Linked DNA regions of Homo sapiens: region 1 is linked to region 2. Evidence: promoter capture Hi-C in 16 types of primary human blood cells and fetal thymus (Javierre and others, 2016). All regions are on one chromosome and are shown on one strand. Each heading gives the region's core, a stretch centred on a gene start or on the middle of the fragment in contact. The rest is flanking DNA. Distances are from core to core; before and after follow the strand shown. Region 1 has its middle 180 kb from the start of SMAD2. Region 2 holds the start of ELOA2 (elongin A2).

Region 1 (4,022 bases), core at 608-3,107, 720 kb before region 2:
AGATGCCCGCACCTGCCCCACCTGGCTGTGCCAAAGCCTGCCCTGGAATTGAGATGGTGACACCCTCCCTGCCCTGACCCTTGCCCTTGAGAGAAGCCTCAGATCCTGTCTAGTGGTCCAGAGGCCTGGTTCTTCCTCCCAGCTCTGACTCTGAGTGTTTCCAGCCATTTTTTTCATACCTCTGTGCTTCAGTTTCCTCACTATAAAACTGATAAGTGGCCAGGCGCGGTGGCTTATGCTTGTAATCCCAGCACTTTGGGAGGCCGAGGCTGGTGGATCACGAGGTCAGGAGATGGAGACCATCCTGGCTAACATGTGAAACCCCGTCTCTACTAAAAATACAAAAAATTAGCTGGGCGTGGTGGTGCGCACCTGTATTCCCAGCTACTTGGGAGGCTGAGGCAGGAGAATTGCTTGAATCTGGGAGGCGGAGGTTGCAGTGAGCCAAGATCATGCCATTGCACTCCAGCCTGGGTGACAGAGCAAGACTCCATCTCAAAGAAAACAACAAAAAACAAAAAACAAAAAACTGATGAGTACATTGCCTGTTCTAGGCAATTGCCTGTTCTAGGCCAGGCATGGGGGCTATAGACATGAGTAGGCTCTCCAGGAGTCTGTGGGTCCTGCAAGAGGGCAAAAAGGAAACAGAAGCATGGGACAGCATAGGTATCAGGGACTCTGTATTATTTTAAAAGTGTGCAAGGAACATGTGGGAAGGAAAGACTGGACCGATTCTGCCTGGAGCAGGGAGAGAATGCTTCCTGGAGGAGGCAGCTATTAAACTGAGGCAGGAAGGAGAAGTCAGCGTTCACTAGGCAGACAGTAGGAAATGGTGTATCTGGCAGAGAACAGCAGGTGCTAGGGCTTGGAGATGCAAAAGTGACAGTTAAAAGATATCACCTTAAAATTATTGAATTTTAGAGCCAGAAGGGACCTTGGAGATCATGAAATCTAGTGGGTTTTCAAACATGTTTTGGTCTTATTTCAAGCATATGTAGAATTCCATTGTATACACCAGTTAATATTAATAGCTAACATTCATTGAGCGTTTACCGTATGCCAGACACTTTACCTGTGTTAATTCAATTACTTTTCCCAACAATCCTTTGAGTTAGGTTACTACTAACATCTTAATTTATAGATGAGGAAAATGAGGCATAGAGGAGTTAAGAAACTTGCTCATGGTCACACAGTGTCAGTGAAAAGGCTAGGAATTGAACCCAGGTAGCCTGGTTCCTAGCCTAGGCATGTGGTTACCAGGCTGTATGGCCTCTGTAGATGTGAAGGTGGAGCTGCTTGTTTAAGGAGGGGTGGTACCCAAAAGGCCTTGTCCCCTCCTCATCCACACATTTCCCGCTGAGACCCATGGATATAACCTGCCAGCAAGAGGCTCCCTCTGAAACCACTGATTTAGATCAATCATATGATGGAGAAGCCATATCTGTCAGGTTATGCCATAGATTCCAAGGTTGTCCTGTAATGATGAGTAAGCCAGGGAAGGCTTTCTGGGGAGGGAGTGCCCATTTCATGTCATTAACACCCATTCTCTAACCATGTGGGGTGTTTTCTAGCAAAAGCTTCAGCCTTGTGGGGAGGATGCATGGGGGTTGGCAGGACAGCACATGGCTTGGTTTCCAGCCAGGACTCCTTGGTCGGTTTTCTTCAGCACTGAAGTACTCAGGTCCCAGGCCTGAGGGCAGAGGCAGGAGGAGCAAGACTCTCAGCGGACTCCATGTGGTTGATGATTGGCAGGTGGAGATGAGGAGCATGTGGGAAGTCTGCAGGTCCCAGGCAGAAAGTGCACTGCCAGGGCATCAGTGCAGGTCCCGGACATCAGTGCAGCGCCAGAGCATCAGTGCAGGTTCCGGGCAGGGCATCAGTGCAGTGCCAAGGCATCAGTGCAGTGGGTAGGAGGGACAACCCCCTTCACACTGACCGCCCCCCTCAGCTTGCTTTAAAACAGAAGAGGGTGGGATTTTGCCTTGGTGTCGGGAAAGGGCACGGTTATGTGAGGGCTGGTGGACAGGGGAGCAGTAGTTTGATTCTTGTTGGAGGCCACCCCTCCCAGTTCCCCTTACTGAGGGATTGGGGGGTACTAGAAACCCTCTGAGCTTCCAGGTCCTCATTCTAAGCTTCTAGTGTCAGCTTCCAGGGGCCAGTGGAGACCCTGCCTCCTCCAGGGTTCTTTCCTGACCTCCCAGCCCGTAGGGTCCTCGGTCCCTTGGGGCATCACTAGATCCCTCTCTGGTTCTTGCTGGTACTTTTGGCCACAGCTTTACACCCTGCTTTCCCATCCCTAGGTGCTGTTTCCCCCAGGTGGGCATCCAGCCTGTTCCAGGTATTGATTCATCCAGCATTTAGTGAGTGGCTACTCCAGGCGTCAGGCACCAAGAGGGGCCTGCCCCTCAGCAGCTCCCAGTGTGGTGTGTGTGTGTGTGTGTATGTACATGTGTGTATGTCTATATGTATGTGTACATGTATATGTATGCATATATATGAGATGTGTGCATGTGTATACGTGTGCATGTGTGTATGTATATGTGTATATGTGTGTATGTGTATATGGGTGTATGTGTGTGCATATCTTTGTATACATGTGTATATGTGTTTATATCTGTGTGTATGTGTGTATATGTATGTGTATGCATGTATATGCATGTGTGTATAAGTGTATGAATATGTGTGTATAAATGTATGTATATGCATATGTGTATAAATGTGTGTATGTATATGCATATGTGTATATAAATGTGTGTATGTATATGGGTTTATAAGTGTATGTATATATGTGTATGTGTGTATAAACGTGTGTATGTATGTATAAGTGTGTGTATGTATATGTGTATGTGTGTATGTATGTGTATGTGTGTGTATGTATATTTGTATAAATGTGTGTATGTATATGTGTGTGTATGTATATTTGTATAAATGTGTGTATGTATATGTATGTATAAGCATGTATATGTATGTTTATGTATATGTGTGTATATGTGTGTATGTGTGTATATGTGTGTGTGCATGTGTGTGTATATGTGTGTATCTGTGTCAGACTGACAACTGAGCAGGGAGACCAAGTCAATGACTGTGGTTTGGTCTGAGGAGGGCTGAGACACACACAGGCTGAGGGCCCAAACTTACCCTGAAAACTGCGGCCGAGCCCAGTAGCGGCCATCCCAGTAGCAGGTATGGGAGGCTCTTGTTAACGACCCTATCAGTGGTCCGCAAATCCACCAGAAAGGCGTAGCGTCCTTGTTAATTTCAGGCCTCTCAAAAGCAGCCCTGCCCAGCCTGTCCTGGCCCTCTCCCCTGAACATGTCATCCCTAAAATCTTGACCTCCTACACTTAAGGAGGGCCCTCCTTCCCTCCATCAACCCCATGCCCAAAGCAATCCCCTAAATCCACAGCATCCCGAATTCCAGTAACCCTTTAGAGGTTCGCGCATCCCATTACTGTTTTGGCCCTGTCCTGTCCTGCGTGGGCCAGCCAGTGTGATGTTGGTTCCTTAGCAGCCCTGGGGAGAAGCAGAGGGCGGGGGGCGTGGGGAGAGTCGAAGGAGCCATCCTGGATCCGTAGGCCTCCCGTCCGTCCGCGGGTCAGTGCGGCATCGCGGACACCAGGGGGCGCCAGAGCGTCGGGTTTCGCGCGGCTGCCCTTCGCAGTCCAGACGGCGCGGCGCGCGGCGGCCGCCAGGGGTCAGCAGAGCTCAGGGCCGCGGGCGCGAAGCGCGGGGCTCAGGGCTGGGCGGCGGCAGCTGCGTTCCCGGCTCCGAGCGCCGTTCTCTGTTAGGAGGGTAATTTAGAGCAATTACACCGATTATTATTGCTTTTCTAATTAGTGCTTTTCCTACAGAATTAGCCGAGTGTTTATTAGGAGCTGCTTGTTGCCAGCCGCTTAACTGCTTCGCTGCCGGGCGCGGGCGAGGGGAGGGGCGCCGCGTGGGGCTGCCTGGTTATGTGGTTTCGCATAAAAGCACGGATTAAATATTCATTCTCCTTTGTTACATATAGCATTAAATTTTTAT
Region 2 (3,685 bases), core at 261-2,760:
GTTTCAATTTCAGTAATAAGATCCAAATTTTGCATTAAGCTTTCAATCTCAAAAACAAACAGTTAAAAAGCATACATCACTTCTTTCAAATGTCTTTACTATACTTCTGTTTTACAGTCCCTGCATCTAATATTCCCCTAAAAGGTTGAATATATATACCTGTAGGTTCTAATTTGTTTCTTGTTTGTTTCCTGACTATCTCCTGGCTCTGCCAGGAAACTTCCTAACTTTCAAATGCTGTACAACCCAAAAAAATGCTAGAAATATCAAAAGAAGTGTCTACAGATCCAGAAAAGACATTTATTGAATTTAATACAATGTCAGAATTGGTCAACTATGCTCAGAAACATAGGACCAAGTGTTCCCTAATTTGAGAGGGTAAATAAGTAACAACAGAAATAAGAGAAAAAACCATAGATATTTCAAATGATCCTGTTTTAATAATTGTCACTGAAAATTAAAGTCCGATCCAGATACCAAATCTGTTTCAACAATAATAGCTAGAGACAAGAGTAAAAATTTCTTTAAAGTTTTAAAACAGGTGGAAGAAGATCCAGAAATATTTATTCCAAGATTTGTAAGCGGGGATAAAACATGGCTACACTGGATAGTCCTGAAGAAAGAGCACAAAACAAAGGCTACCAAAAGGTGGCAGCACTCCAGTCAAAGACAGAGAGGACCAGTCAAGAGAAGAGGTCATGGCAACAGTTTTGGGGAATGCTCAAAAGATATGACTAAAAGACTTTTTGAAGGGCCAAACCAAGATCAAATATGCTTACTAACAGAGTTTTTGAGAAAACTAGCCAAAGCATGAGCAGAAAAACCATTACCAGAGAGTTCTACCTAATCATGAAAAAGTTCTTGCTGTAGCATTTCACTGAACAAAGGGCAGTTTGGCAAGAGTTTCAAAAGGAGATCATGAGGCGTCCACCTTGCAGTCATGATGTGGAACCTGCTGACTTCTATTTATTTCCTCGTATTAAAAATTCTGCAAACGGCACCCAGTTTTCTTCAGTTAATAATGGAAAAAAGATTTCTTGGAAATAGTTAAATTCCCAGAAACATCAGGGCTTGAGGGACAAGGCGGGGTCAAGACAGTGCTCGAACTACTGTCTCGAAATTGATGGAGCAGATGTTAAGAAATAAAATCTACCGGTTTTATTTTTGTCTTTTAATCCCTGTTTTGACAAATTTGGGAAGTCCCCTCACACAACATCAGTCCTAGGCAAAGAGTTGTTATCCTGTATTGGTTCTTCTTTCTATGATTTTGTCTTGCTGTGTTATTTTCTGTTTTACTCCCAAGAAGATTCAGTCTGTGTTTTTTGGAATTCACAGATGTGGAACCTGCGAACATGGAAGGTCAACGGTAAAACTCAGTGGGGTGTGTCGAGGCTGAAATTAACCTAATCAACCTCTGGGGCACAGCAGTCCACCTGGCGTGGACCGTCCCGATTGTCTGCATTGTGCTGACGGCATGAGTACGTATGGGGGCGGGGCAGCCCAAGAGCTAAGAGGGTCAGGGCTAGAGCCGTGAGTGTCAGCCTGGGATGGGCTACATAAGGCCCAGCTCTGGCACCAGAGCTTCATTCTTTGTTGCACAGCAAACTGCAGAGGTCACTCCAGGCTGTGGCTCCACATCCCGAGGAACAAAAGCGGGCCTGCTCAGCTGTCTGCAAGGACGGCCGTTCCAGACCAAGTGGCCTGCTGCTCCGAGGACCCAGCTCGCTCCAGGCTGTGACTCCACATCCCGAGGTCGCTGCCTGGCGACCGGGCAGCGAGGACCGGCCACCCCAGACTTCCTGTCCCGCAGCCCCAAAGACAGAGCTGCGACCGCCGGGACAGCGACGCCTGCACAGCTCTGGTGAGATGGCGGCAGGGTCCACTACGCTGCACGCAGTGGAGAAGCTGCAGGTGCGTCTGGCCACTAAGACGGAGCCGAAAAAGCTAGAGAAATATTTGCAGAAACTCTCCGCCTTGCCCATGACGGCAGACATCCTGGCGGAGACTGGAATCAGAAAGACGGTGAAGCGCCTGCGGAAGCACCAGCACGTGGGCGACTTTGCCAGAGACTTAGCGGCCCGGTGGAAGAAGCTGGTGCTCGTGGACCGAAACACCCGGCCTGGCCCACAGGACCCTGAGGAGAGCGCTTCCCGACAGCGCTTCGGGGAGGCTCTTCAGGACCAGGAAAAGGCCTGGGGCTTCCCAGAAAACGCGACGGCCCCCAGGAGCCCATCTCACAGCCCTGAGCACAGACGGACAGCACGCAGAACACCTCCGGGGCAACAGAGACCTCACCCGAGGTCTCACAGTCGCGAGCCCAGAGCTGAGAGAAAGTGCCCCAGAATAGCCCCAGCTGATTCCGGCCGCTATCGGGCCTCTCCAACGCGCACAGCTCCCCTCCGGATGCCCGAGGGCCCTGAGCCCGCTGCGCCCGGGAAGCAACCCGGAAGAGGCCACACTCACGCGGCTCAGGGCGGGCCTCTGCTGTGTCCAGGCTGCCAGGGCCAACCCCAGGGGAAAGCCGTTGTGAGCCACAGCAAGGGGCACAAATCGTCTCGCCAGGAAAAACGCCCCTTGTGTGCCCAGGGAGATTGGCACTCCCCTACTTTGATCAGGGAGAAATCATGCGGGGCCTGCTTAAGAGAGGAAACCCCAAGGATGCCCTCCTGGGCAAGTGCCAGGGACAGGCAGCCTTCGGACTTCAAGACAGACAAGGAAGGGGGGCAAGCTGGCAGCGGCCAGCGTGTCCCTGCCTTGGAGGAGGCTCCAGACAGTCACCAGAAGAGGCCTCAGCACAGTCACTCGAACAAGAAGAGGCCCAGTCTAGACGGCCGGGACCCAGGAAATGGGACACACGGCCTGTCGCCCGAGGAGAAAGAGCAGCTTTCCAACGACCGAGAGACTCAAGAGGGGAAGCCACCGACTGCTCATTTGGACAGAACGTCCGTGAGCTCCCTCTCTGAGGTGGAGGAGGTAGATATGGCTGAGGAATTCGAGCAGCCCACTCTGTCATGTGAAAAATACCTCACCTACGATCAGTTGCGGAAGCAAAAGAAAAAGACTGGAAAATCTGCCACCACTGCACTTGGAGATAAACAAAGGAAAGCAAACGAATCCAAGGGCACTCGTGAGTCCTGGGATTCGGCTAAGAAATTGCCTCCTGTCCAGGAAAGCCAGTCAGAGAGGCTGCAGGCGGCCGGCGCTGATTCCGCCGGGCCGAAAACGGTGCCCAGCCATGTCTTCTCAGAGCTCTGGGACCTCTCAGAGGCCTGGATGCAGGCCAACTACGATCCGCTTTCGGATTCTGACTCCATGACCTCCCAGGCAAAGCCAGAAGCACTCTCTTCACCAAAGTTCCGGGAGGAAGCTGCTTTCCCTGGACGCAGAGTGAATGCTAAGATGCCGGTGTACTCGGGCTCCAGGCCTGCCTGCCAGCTCCAGGTGCCGACGCTGCGCCAGCAGTGTGCCCAGGTGCTTAGAAACAATCCGGACGCCCTCAGCGACGTGGGAGAGGTCCCCTACTGGGTTCTTGAACCTGTTCTGGAAGGGTGGAGGCCCGATCAGCTGTATCGCAGAAAGAAAGACAATCACGCACTCGTTAGAGAGACAGACGAATTACGGAGGAATCATTGTTTCCAGGACTTCAAGGAAGAAAAGCCACAGGAAAACAAAACTTGGAGGGAGC

Evidence for each region. Contacts are between HindIII fragments. The CHiCAGO score rates a contact against its expected background, and 5 or more counts as called.
Region 1: a contact is called between a fragment that was not itself captured here and the fragment with the promoter of ELOA2 in region 2, in 1 of 17 cell types (total CD8 T cells). The highest score is 5.7, in total CD8 T cells.

What each region holds. Positions count from the first base shown.
Region 1 is chr18:47,748,950-47,752,971 of GRCh38, reverse strand. No RefSeq gene overlaps it. Among named protein-coding and RNA genes, the nearest start is that of SMAD2, 180 kb to the left of the region's middle. RefSeq lists a silencer at 3,606-3,785. The HindIII fragment of the contact is 555 bases long and covers 1,580-2,134 here.
Region 2 is chr18:47,033,446-47,037,130 of GRCh38, reverse strand. It overlaps ELOA2 (elongin A2), which reads left to right and starts at 1,510. Exons shown (of 1, transcript NM_016427.3): 1 at 1,510-3,685. The coding sequence starts at 1,867. The region is part of intron 3 of KATNAL2 (katanin catalytic subunit A1 like 2); the gene reads right to left. The HindIII fragment of the contact is 9,917 bases long and covers 42-3,685 here.